Linked DNA regions of Homo sapiens: region 2 is linked to region 1. Evidence: promoter capture Hi-C in human tissues and cell types (Jung and others, 2019). All regions are on one chromosome and are shown on one strand. The core of a region is centred on a gene start or on the middle of the fragment in contact, and the rest is flanking DNA. Distances in the headings are between cores, read along the strand shown. Region 1 holds the start of ANKRD9 (ankyrin repeat domain 9). Region 2 overlaps TECPR2 (tectonin beta-propeller repeat containing 2).

Evidence for each region. Contacts are between HindIII fragments. The study calls those that stand out against the background at their distance.
Region 2: a contact is called between a fragment that was not itself captured here and the fragment with the promoter of ANKRD9 in region 1, in 1 of the 25 tissues and cell types used here (hippocampus).

What each region holds. Positions count from the first base shown.
Region 1 is chr14:102,507,696-102,511,502 of GRCh38, reverse strand. It overlaps ANKRD9 (ankyrin repeat domain 9), which reads left to right and starts at 1,727. Exons shown (of 4, transcript NM_152326.4): 1 at 1,727-1,974; 2 at 2,657-2,862; 3 at 2,954-3,028; 4 at 3,561-3,807. The coding sequence starts at 3,614. It overlaps LOC105370679 (a long non-coding RNA gene), which reads right to left and starts at 1,460. Exons shown (of 4, transcript XR_007064352.1): 1 at 1-1,460. RefSeq lists enhancers at 1-363, 364-1,009, 1,010-1,653 and silencers at 1,134-1,183, 1,344-1,783, 2,778-2,939. The HindIII fragment of the contact is 3,197 bases long and covers 1-2,936 here.
Region 2 is chr14:102,372,427-102,376,691 of GRCh38, reverse strand. It overlaps TECPR2 (tectonin beta-propeller repeat containing 2), which reads right to left. Exons shown (of 20, transcript NM_014844.5): 2 at 1-42. All of the region lies in intron 1 of LOC124903389 (a long non-coding RNA gene), which reads left to right. It also overlaps the pseudogene LOC124903440. Among named protein-coding and RNA genes, the nearest start is that of TECPR2, 12 kb to the right of the region's middle. RefSeq lists enhancers at 1,194-1,263, 1,294-1,353. The HindIII fragment of the contact is 8,045 bases long and covers 1-4,265 here.

The DNA of each region.
Region 1 (3,807 bases), core at 478-2,977:
GAGAAGCCCTAGGGAGATAGGCCTAGATACAGGAGGAGACATGTGGAGCTGAGGCAAAGGCGGGTGCGGATGCCAGGCCCAGTGCCCTCTATACCCCTACTCCTGCTGACAACCTGGCTGCTGTAAGCTTGGCAGTTGCCATGGACTCCCTGGGAGAGATGGCGTGGCCTGGAACGTCCCCCGCCCTGAGGTGGGGCAGGGCTGGTGGGGTCTGGTCATCCCCCTGGTGGGTCCATGCATGGCAGCCTGGGCAGGATACATGTGAGTGCCTACCTGGGCTGGGGTGGCCTGACCCTCTCTGGGCCTCACAGCTTTGTCTGCCTCATGGTACTGTCCACCTGGCCTCTCAGGACTGCTCTGTGGCGTGTGTGCTTAAGGGATTGAGCTCGTTGGGCTGGGGACAGAGGCCTGCCTAGGTCTGTTGAGAGGGCCCAGGTAAGACTTCCACCCAGACTGACTGGCTGGGGCACACAGAGAAGCCAGGACAGGGCTGATTGTGTGTGCAGGGGCGTGCCCTCTGGACGAGGCCCCTCCCACCGGGGCGAGGCAGAGGCCTTGCTTGGTTGGAGCGGAGTGGGGGAGTGGGAGGGTCTCCCTGGTGAGATAGTACTGGAAGGGCAGGGACAGCATTCTAGGGAAGGAACCAGAAAGAGCCCCTGCATGGAATGTGGGGATTTCACCATGAGACCCCGGCTGCCTGGCCTCTGAGAACGTGTGTGGGGGGATTCCAGGTGGAAGGTCGTGTCTGGGAGGATGGGTGGGGGGTTGAGCAGTCATTGCCCCTCTCCAGATCTGCGTCCACATCTGTAAAATGGGCCTAGAATTCCCAGCCGCTGGGGGCGAGTGAGGCCATAAATTAGTTGAGATGGACCCAGGCTCCTAAGCCCCCTAGGTCATGACCCCAAACCTTGGAACCCCCGACGGAGACGGTGGGGGTGGCCGAGGCCCAATCGAATCTATCCCGCCCAGATGTGGGAAGAACCGCAGGGCAAACCCCCGGCTTCCCTCCTGGCCGCTCCTCTCTTTGAGGCCACCTCTCTGAGCCCTGATTTGCTGGCGGGTGAACTGGGGATCATCGTGTCCACTGTGGCTGGTGGTCGTGAAACGAAGTGGAAACATGAGTGTTGAGGCCGAGATGGGCGCAGTGCGCGCTCCTAAACAGCTGTCCCCATCCGTCCGCCCCTCCCTCCCTTGCGCGGGTCAGCTGGAGCGGGGGCGCGCCAGGCACGACCCTGGCCGGGCAGAAGGCGGTGGAGCCCTTAGGGGTCGCGGCTCCTACCCCCGGCCCTCCCATGTGCAGATGGGGTAGCAGCCTGGAGGTTTTTCCCAAGGTCACGTAAGGTCAAAGAAAAGGGGAGCTGGACGCGACGAGGAAAGTCACGCACGGCGGAGGGCGGGCCACCTACGCGCGCGCCCGAGTTCGCAGAGCAGCGGCGCCCTCCCGGGCTAGGGCAGCTCGGAGCTCGGAGCCTTTCTTCGCCCGCAGCTCGGGTTCCGGGAGCCCCGCCCCCGCCCATCAACGCCCCGCCCCTTTCGCCACGGCCCCGCCCCTCCTCTCCGTTCTCCCCGCCGGCGCTCCCTCAAGTTTCTCCGAAGTTTTCCGCGGGTCCAGCGGTGCGCCCCGCCCGCCGGCCAGTGACGTAACAATGGTGCAGCGCGGCGGCCAATGGGTGGTGGCGGGGGCCGGCGGCGCGGGCCAATGGCGGCGGCGGACGGTCCCGCTGTCCTGCCTGGCCGGGGCCGCACTGCGCCGCCCGCCGCCCGCCGCCCGCCGCCCGCCGCCGGCGACGGCACCGCCGCCCTGCGATCCGGCCGCGGCGGCTCAGAGCGCGGCTGCGGCGGGCGCGGGCGGCGGTGGCTCCCTCCCGTGCGTCCGTCGTGGGACCTTTGCCCGCTCGCCCGCGGGGGACAGCGCGCGCTCCGGTCCGCGGCAGGGGCGGGGACGCCCGGCCTGTGGCCCCCGCGCCCCCCATGGTGAGTCCCCGTCCCCCGCGCCGCGCCCGCGGCCGCCGCCCCCTCCTCCTCCGGCACACGCGCACGCAGGTGCAGCCCTCGCTGCGCCGGCCACCTGCGCGCGGACGCCCCGCTCGGCCCCGCGACCCTCCGCCGCCCGACGTCTGGCCGTGCAGGCCGGGAGGGGACGGGTAGGAGGTGGCGGGTGGCCCCGGGCGCGGCGCTGCCTTCGATGGCCCAACCCCCTTATTCACGAGCCGCGGCCGTGACTCTGCCCGGTGACGTGGGGAGGCCGAACTTTACGTAACCCGCCCGGCGCCCCACGCGTGCCGGCACAGGGCATATCTGGGGCCCGGAGGCCCAGGCTTGGGGAAGGGGCTCCAGTCACGGTGTTGCCCACGGGCCACAGCCTACCCGCACCGCGCCGCTCTCTTTAACTCAGTTACTGCCAGTGATAGTGACCCAGTCAGTGTGTGTGGACGCGGCCTGCCTTCTGTCCCAGGCCCCTTGTGACCAAGGGCTTACCCTTGAAAGAAGGCAGTAGGGAGGTTGGGACGGAGCCAGAGGTCAGACGCCTAGGCTCAGGTCGGGGCTGGGGACTCAGAGGGCAGGGTCAGGGCCTAAGCTCGATTGCCTGTGGGTTGGGGGTCCCCACCAATTCTGGAATGAGCCCAAACTGAGACGCAGGGGACCTGAGTTCTAGGCCTGGCTCTGCCGTGGCTTGCTGACCTTGGAGAATTGGAGAAGCTTGTGCCCTGCTGGAAAGTGGGATGGCAGTACCCGCTTCATCTAGTAGTCGGGGAGATCAAGAGAGGTATGGGACCTGAAGAGGATGGCAGACTGTGCAGTGCGGTGCACACCGGTCTCCAGGTTGTTTTCACCCTCCTATCTCCTCCCAGGAGCTAACGTGTAAGCAAACATGTTTGGATAGAGGGCTGGTGCCACGCCCCAGGCTCACCCCGCCCGCACAGCCGTCGTCCACCCCTCCCCTTTCTTACAGATAAAGCTGAGGCTCGGCCAGGGACTGTGATATACCCACATCCCCGGAACTAGGTGATCGCGGTGCAGGAACCAGGTAGGTCTGAGTCTGGATCATGCCTCTGAACAGCCCAGGAAGAGGCTCCAGGGGCCTCCAAGTGGTCTGGGGTCGGAGATCAGGGTCAGGGTTGCGCTTGGGCTGGAGAGTGGATTTGCCTCAGCTTGAGATGTGGGCCCAAGCTTTCTCATCCCCTCCCTGGCCTTTTCTTTATTTGGGGTCGTATGAACCTGGCTTAGGTGGGAACAGAAGCTCTTCCAGTGGGTCCCTGGGTTGGAGAGGGGAGGGGAGATTTGAGGGCATGGGCAGCAAGGGCATTTCCAGCAGAGGTGCCAGAGAGCAAGTCAGTTTCAAGGAGGGAGAACAGGTACAGCTAGATCAAGGATGGAGGCGGTGGTTCTGGGCGTCGGAGAGATGGAGCTGTAGGGTGACTGGAAGGGCCTGGCCGAGGCTGGAGGTAGGTACAGGCCTGGTGGGCCAGGACCGGAGGGGCTGTGTGAGGGGCAGAGGGGAGTCCCCGGGCCTCCCCAGTTTCCCCGCGCCTCACCGTGGCCTCTTCCTTTCCCCGCAGGTGTGCCTTCGCGGGATCCATGCCTTGAGGCCCAGGAACGCCCCGCCGCCAGCATGCCGTGGGACGCGCGGCGGCCTGGGGGTGGCGCGGACGGCGGGCCCGAGGCCTCGGGCGCGGCGCGCTCGCGAGCGCAGAAGCAGTGCCGCAAGTCGTCGTTCGCCTTCTACCAGGCGGTGCGCGACCTGCTACCCGTGTGGCTGCTGGAGGATATGCGCGCCAGCGAGGCCTTCCACTGGGACGAGCGCGG
Region 2 (4,265 bases), core at 984-3,483, 140 kb after region 1:
AGGAAAAGGAATGTTTATTTGTCATCTAGGGAAACCTGGGGGCTACAGAACAAAGCATTACAATCCTTTCAATGCCTAGTCATGGCAAAAAGAAGTATGTTTAATACTGGCAACATGGAACTTTTAGGCAGGTAAACATTATAGCTGGAGCTTAAATAAACAGGGAAAGTAAACACGTGTCACTAAGATCACTTTTGAGCATTTTAACTCAAAATGCACTTCAGTATGTTCTGACCTCTATGATTTATGTTGTAGTGAATGCCATGGAGGAGTGGAAAGAATACAAAAAACAAAACAGTTCTTACTCCCAAGTAGCTTATGATCTAGACAGGGAGGCAGATGAAATAGTGAAAAGACACAAATCCACAAGTAATGAGGTGATAATTTGTGGGTTTTCATGAGGAGAGAGAGATCAGTGGGGATTAGAGTGAGTGTAGACATGGCTTCACTGAACACATCCTGAACTATGAAGCCCACCAGGTTGGACAGGATATGGAAAAGAGAAACAGGAAAGACACTCTATTAGGAGAATAGTGGGCCAATCTCAGATGCAGATATGCTGGCTGTGTTAATGAGATGGTGAAGAACAGGTGCCCTGGCCTGGTTGGATGCCCACAGCCTCCTCAGCGCTCAAGAGTCCAGCCACACAGCACCTTACTCTGTTCCACATGGAGACCCACCCACTTGCACTTTGGCTTCAAAGCTTCCCTTACTAAAGATATGCAACCCTTCCATGCACGCCATCTTTCACAAAGTGCTCACTCACTGATTTAATCCTGACCCTACCTTATAAGGCAGGTAGCATCATCCCTAACTTTTAGAAGGGACTGGGGGCCAGAGGGTCATGAGACTCACTCAAGATCAAACAGCCGAGACTTGACTCTAGGTCTTTTCCCTCCAAGTCCTAGGCTCTTGACAACAGCACAGTCACAGCTCTGACAGGCAGGCTGTAACAGTCCAGGTAGATGCTCTGTACCTGATTACACCTGGAGGGATATTTTAGCTCTACAGGTTCTATGGAGACTTCCAAGCTCCTCTCACAGAAACTTCTTGCATCATGGATTTATGGTCTCTTTGAACTGTAGGTTTTCTATTTCTACATAGTGGACTGACCAACTTCCAGTCCCTCTTCTGATCAAATTAATCCAGCTCGTTCTCACCCCAGGGCCCTTGCATTGGCTGTTCCGTCCACTTGGAATGTTCTTTCTCTACTGAGCTCTTCCTCCTTCTCAATTGTGCCCTCTTTCATGAGGCCGTACTTGATTTCTCCTCCCCCTACTGAGTTCTCTCTCTGTCACCTCTCCCAGTTTTACTTTCTCTACACAGCCCCTTTCTTCTTTTTTTTTGAGACACAGTCTCACTCTGTGACCCAGGCTGGAAAGCAGTAGCAAGATCATGACTCACTGACGCCTCAAACTCCTGGGCTCAAGTGAACCTCCTGCCTCCACCTCCCACGTAGCTGGGACTACAGGAATATGCCACCATGCCTGGCTAATTTTTAAATTATTTTGTAGAGATGAGGTCTCGCTGTGTTGCCCAGGCTGGTCTCAATCATGGCTTACTACAGCCTCAAGCTCCTGGGCTCAAGAGATCCTCCCATCTCAGCCTCCCAAAGTGCTTGGATTACAGGTGTGAGCCACCGTGTCCGGCCTATCCACACATCTCCTTTCTTTTCTCTGACTGGTTATCTGCCTGCCTGCCACTCTGACACACACACTAGTCTGTAAGGCCCATAACAGCAGAGCCCATATCTGCCTCACTCACCCCTCTTCCCCCCGCAGGGAGAAAAGGGCTAGGCACATCAGAGGCATTCAGCAAGTATTTGTTGCATAAATGAATGAATGATGAAACAGAAAATTTGGCCCAGGAACAGTGGCTTATGCCTGTAATCCTAGTGCTTTGGGAGGCCAAGGTGGGAGAACTGCTTGAGACCAGGAGTTCACAACCAGCCTGGGCAACATAGCAAGACTCCCGCCTCAACAAAAAATATTTTTAAAAATTAGTCAGGCATGGTGCTACATGCCTGTAGTCCTAGCTACTCATGAGGCTGAGGTGGGAAGATCACGCTTTTAAAACAAATATTTCATTTTAAAAAATAGAGAGGGTTTCACTATGTTGCCTAGGCTGGTCTCCAACTCCTGGGCTCAAGTGATCCTTCCTCCTCAGCTTCCCCAAGTGCTGGGATTACAGGTATGAGCCACTGCACTCAGCCAGGAAGATCACTTGAGCCTAGGAATTTGAGGCTGCAGTGAGCTATGACTGTGTCACTGCACTCTAGCCCGAGTGACAGAGTGAGACACTGTCTCTTAAATGAATAAATAAATAAAAGGAAAATATGCAAGGAAGGAATGAGTGACAAGAACAGAAGAACAAAGGCTGTGCTTTCTGGGATCATTTCTATAGTTCATTACTAGAGAAGTTTCTCTGAATGTGTAGAGCAAAAGAAAAAATATTAAATATAAAATTCTAAAAAATGGAATGGAAGAGCAGCAAAGTATCATTTTTTCTTCAATATGACCCCAATTCAATGCTGGAATAATAATTCCCTAAATCTGTATAGCATATCCAGTTTTCCAAGCATTTTTAGATTCTATTTCTTTTCTTTTTTTTTTTTTTTTTTGAGACAGAATCTCGCTCTGTCCCCCAAGCTGGAGTGCGGTGGTGCGATCTCGGCTCACTGCAACACTCGCCTCCTGGGTTCTTCTGCCTCAGCCTCCCGAGTAGGTGGGACTACAGGCGTGTGCCACCAAGCCCGGATAATTTTTATATTTTTTAGTAGAGATGGGGGTTTCCCCATATTGGCCAGGCTGGTCTCGAACTCCTGACCTCATGATCTGCCCATCTGAGTCTCCCAAAGTGCTGGGATTACAGGTGTGAGCCATCGCGCCCAGCCTTAGATTCCCATTTCATCTGACAGTCACAATAGCCAATACAGGCAGAACATATCCACGTATGAGAACTTTCTTAAAGGTAAGTAAATAACAATAATAATAATAATTGCATTCCTCTGTGATACTTAAGAACCCAATCCACCCTCTTTTGCAGTAATAATAATGGGAATAGCTAATGTTTTTACAGATGCTCCTCAACTTACAATGGGGTTATGTCCCAATAAAACCGTCATAAGCTGAAAAGATAAGTCACAATACATTTAATACACCTAACCTGCCGAACATCTTAGCTTAGCCTAGCCTAACTTAAATGTGCTTAGAATACTTATGTTAGCCTACAGCTGGGCAAAATCATCTAATCAAAGCCTATTTTATCACAAAGTGTTGCATATCTCATGTAATTTATTTAATACCATATTGAAAGTGAAAAACAGAATGGTTGTATGGTTACTGGAAATACAGTTTCTACTGAATGGTATCGTTTTCGCTCAATCTTAAAGTCAAAAAATAGTAAGTTGAAACTCTGTAAGTTGAAAACCGTCTGTACTTAATACAAACTGTTCTTAGCACACAAACCCATTAAATCCTCACCAAAAAGAAAGAAAAAAAAAACAAACATGAAGTAGGCATCATAGTTACTTCCATTTTTTTTTCCTGCAATCCCCAAACATTAGACATGAATGTTACCTCCACTTCATGGATGCAGAAACTTCTTATTCTTCTTTCCAAGGCACAGAAATAGTAAAAGGCTTTGTTTCCTTAAAGAGTGCATACATACATACTCATACACACATTGATGTGCCATAATTTATTTAACTTTTTAAAAATAAAGGTTTCTTTTTATAACAGTTATAAATGCTCACTATCAAAAAGTTGCTTTTTTTTTTGAGACTTGCTCCGTCGCCCATGCTGGAGTGCAGTGGCATGATCTTGGCTCACTGCAACCTCCGCCTCCTGGGTTCAAGTGATTCTTGTGCCTCAGCCTCCCGAGTAGCTGGGATTACAGGTGCCTGCCACCAGGCCTGGCTAATTTTTGTATTTTTAATAGAGATGGGGTTTCACCATGTTGATCATGCTGGTCTTGAACTCCTGATCTCAGGTGATCCACCCACCTTGGCCTCCCAAAGTGCTAGGATTACAGGCTTGAGCTACCACGCCCAGACTTGCTGGGATTACAGGTATGAACCACCATGCCCGGCCTCAAAAATTTGTTAATATAGAAAAGCACAAAGAAGGCTGGGCGCGGTGTCTCACACCTGTAAACCCCAGCACTTCAGGAGACTGAGTCAGGGCGGATCACCTGAGGTTGGGAGTTCAAAACCAGCCTGACCAACATGGAAAAACCCCATCTCTACTAAAAATACAAAATTACCT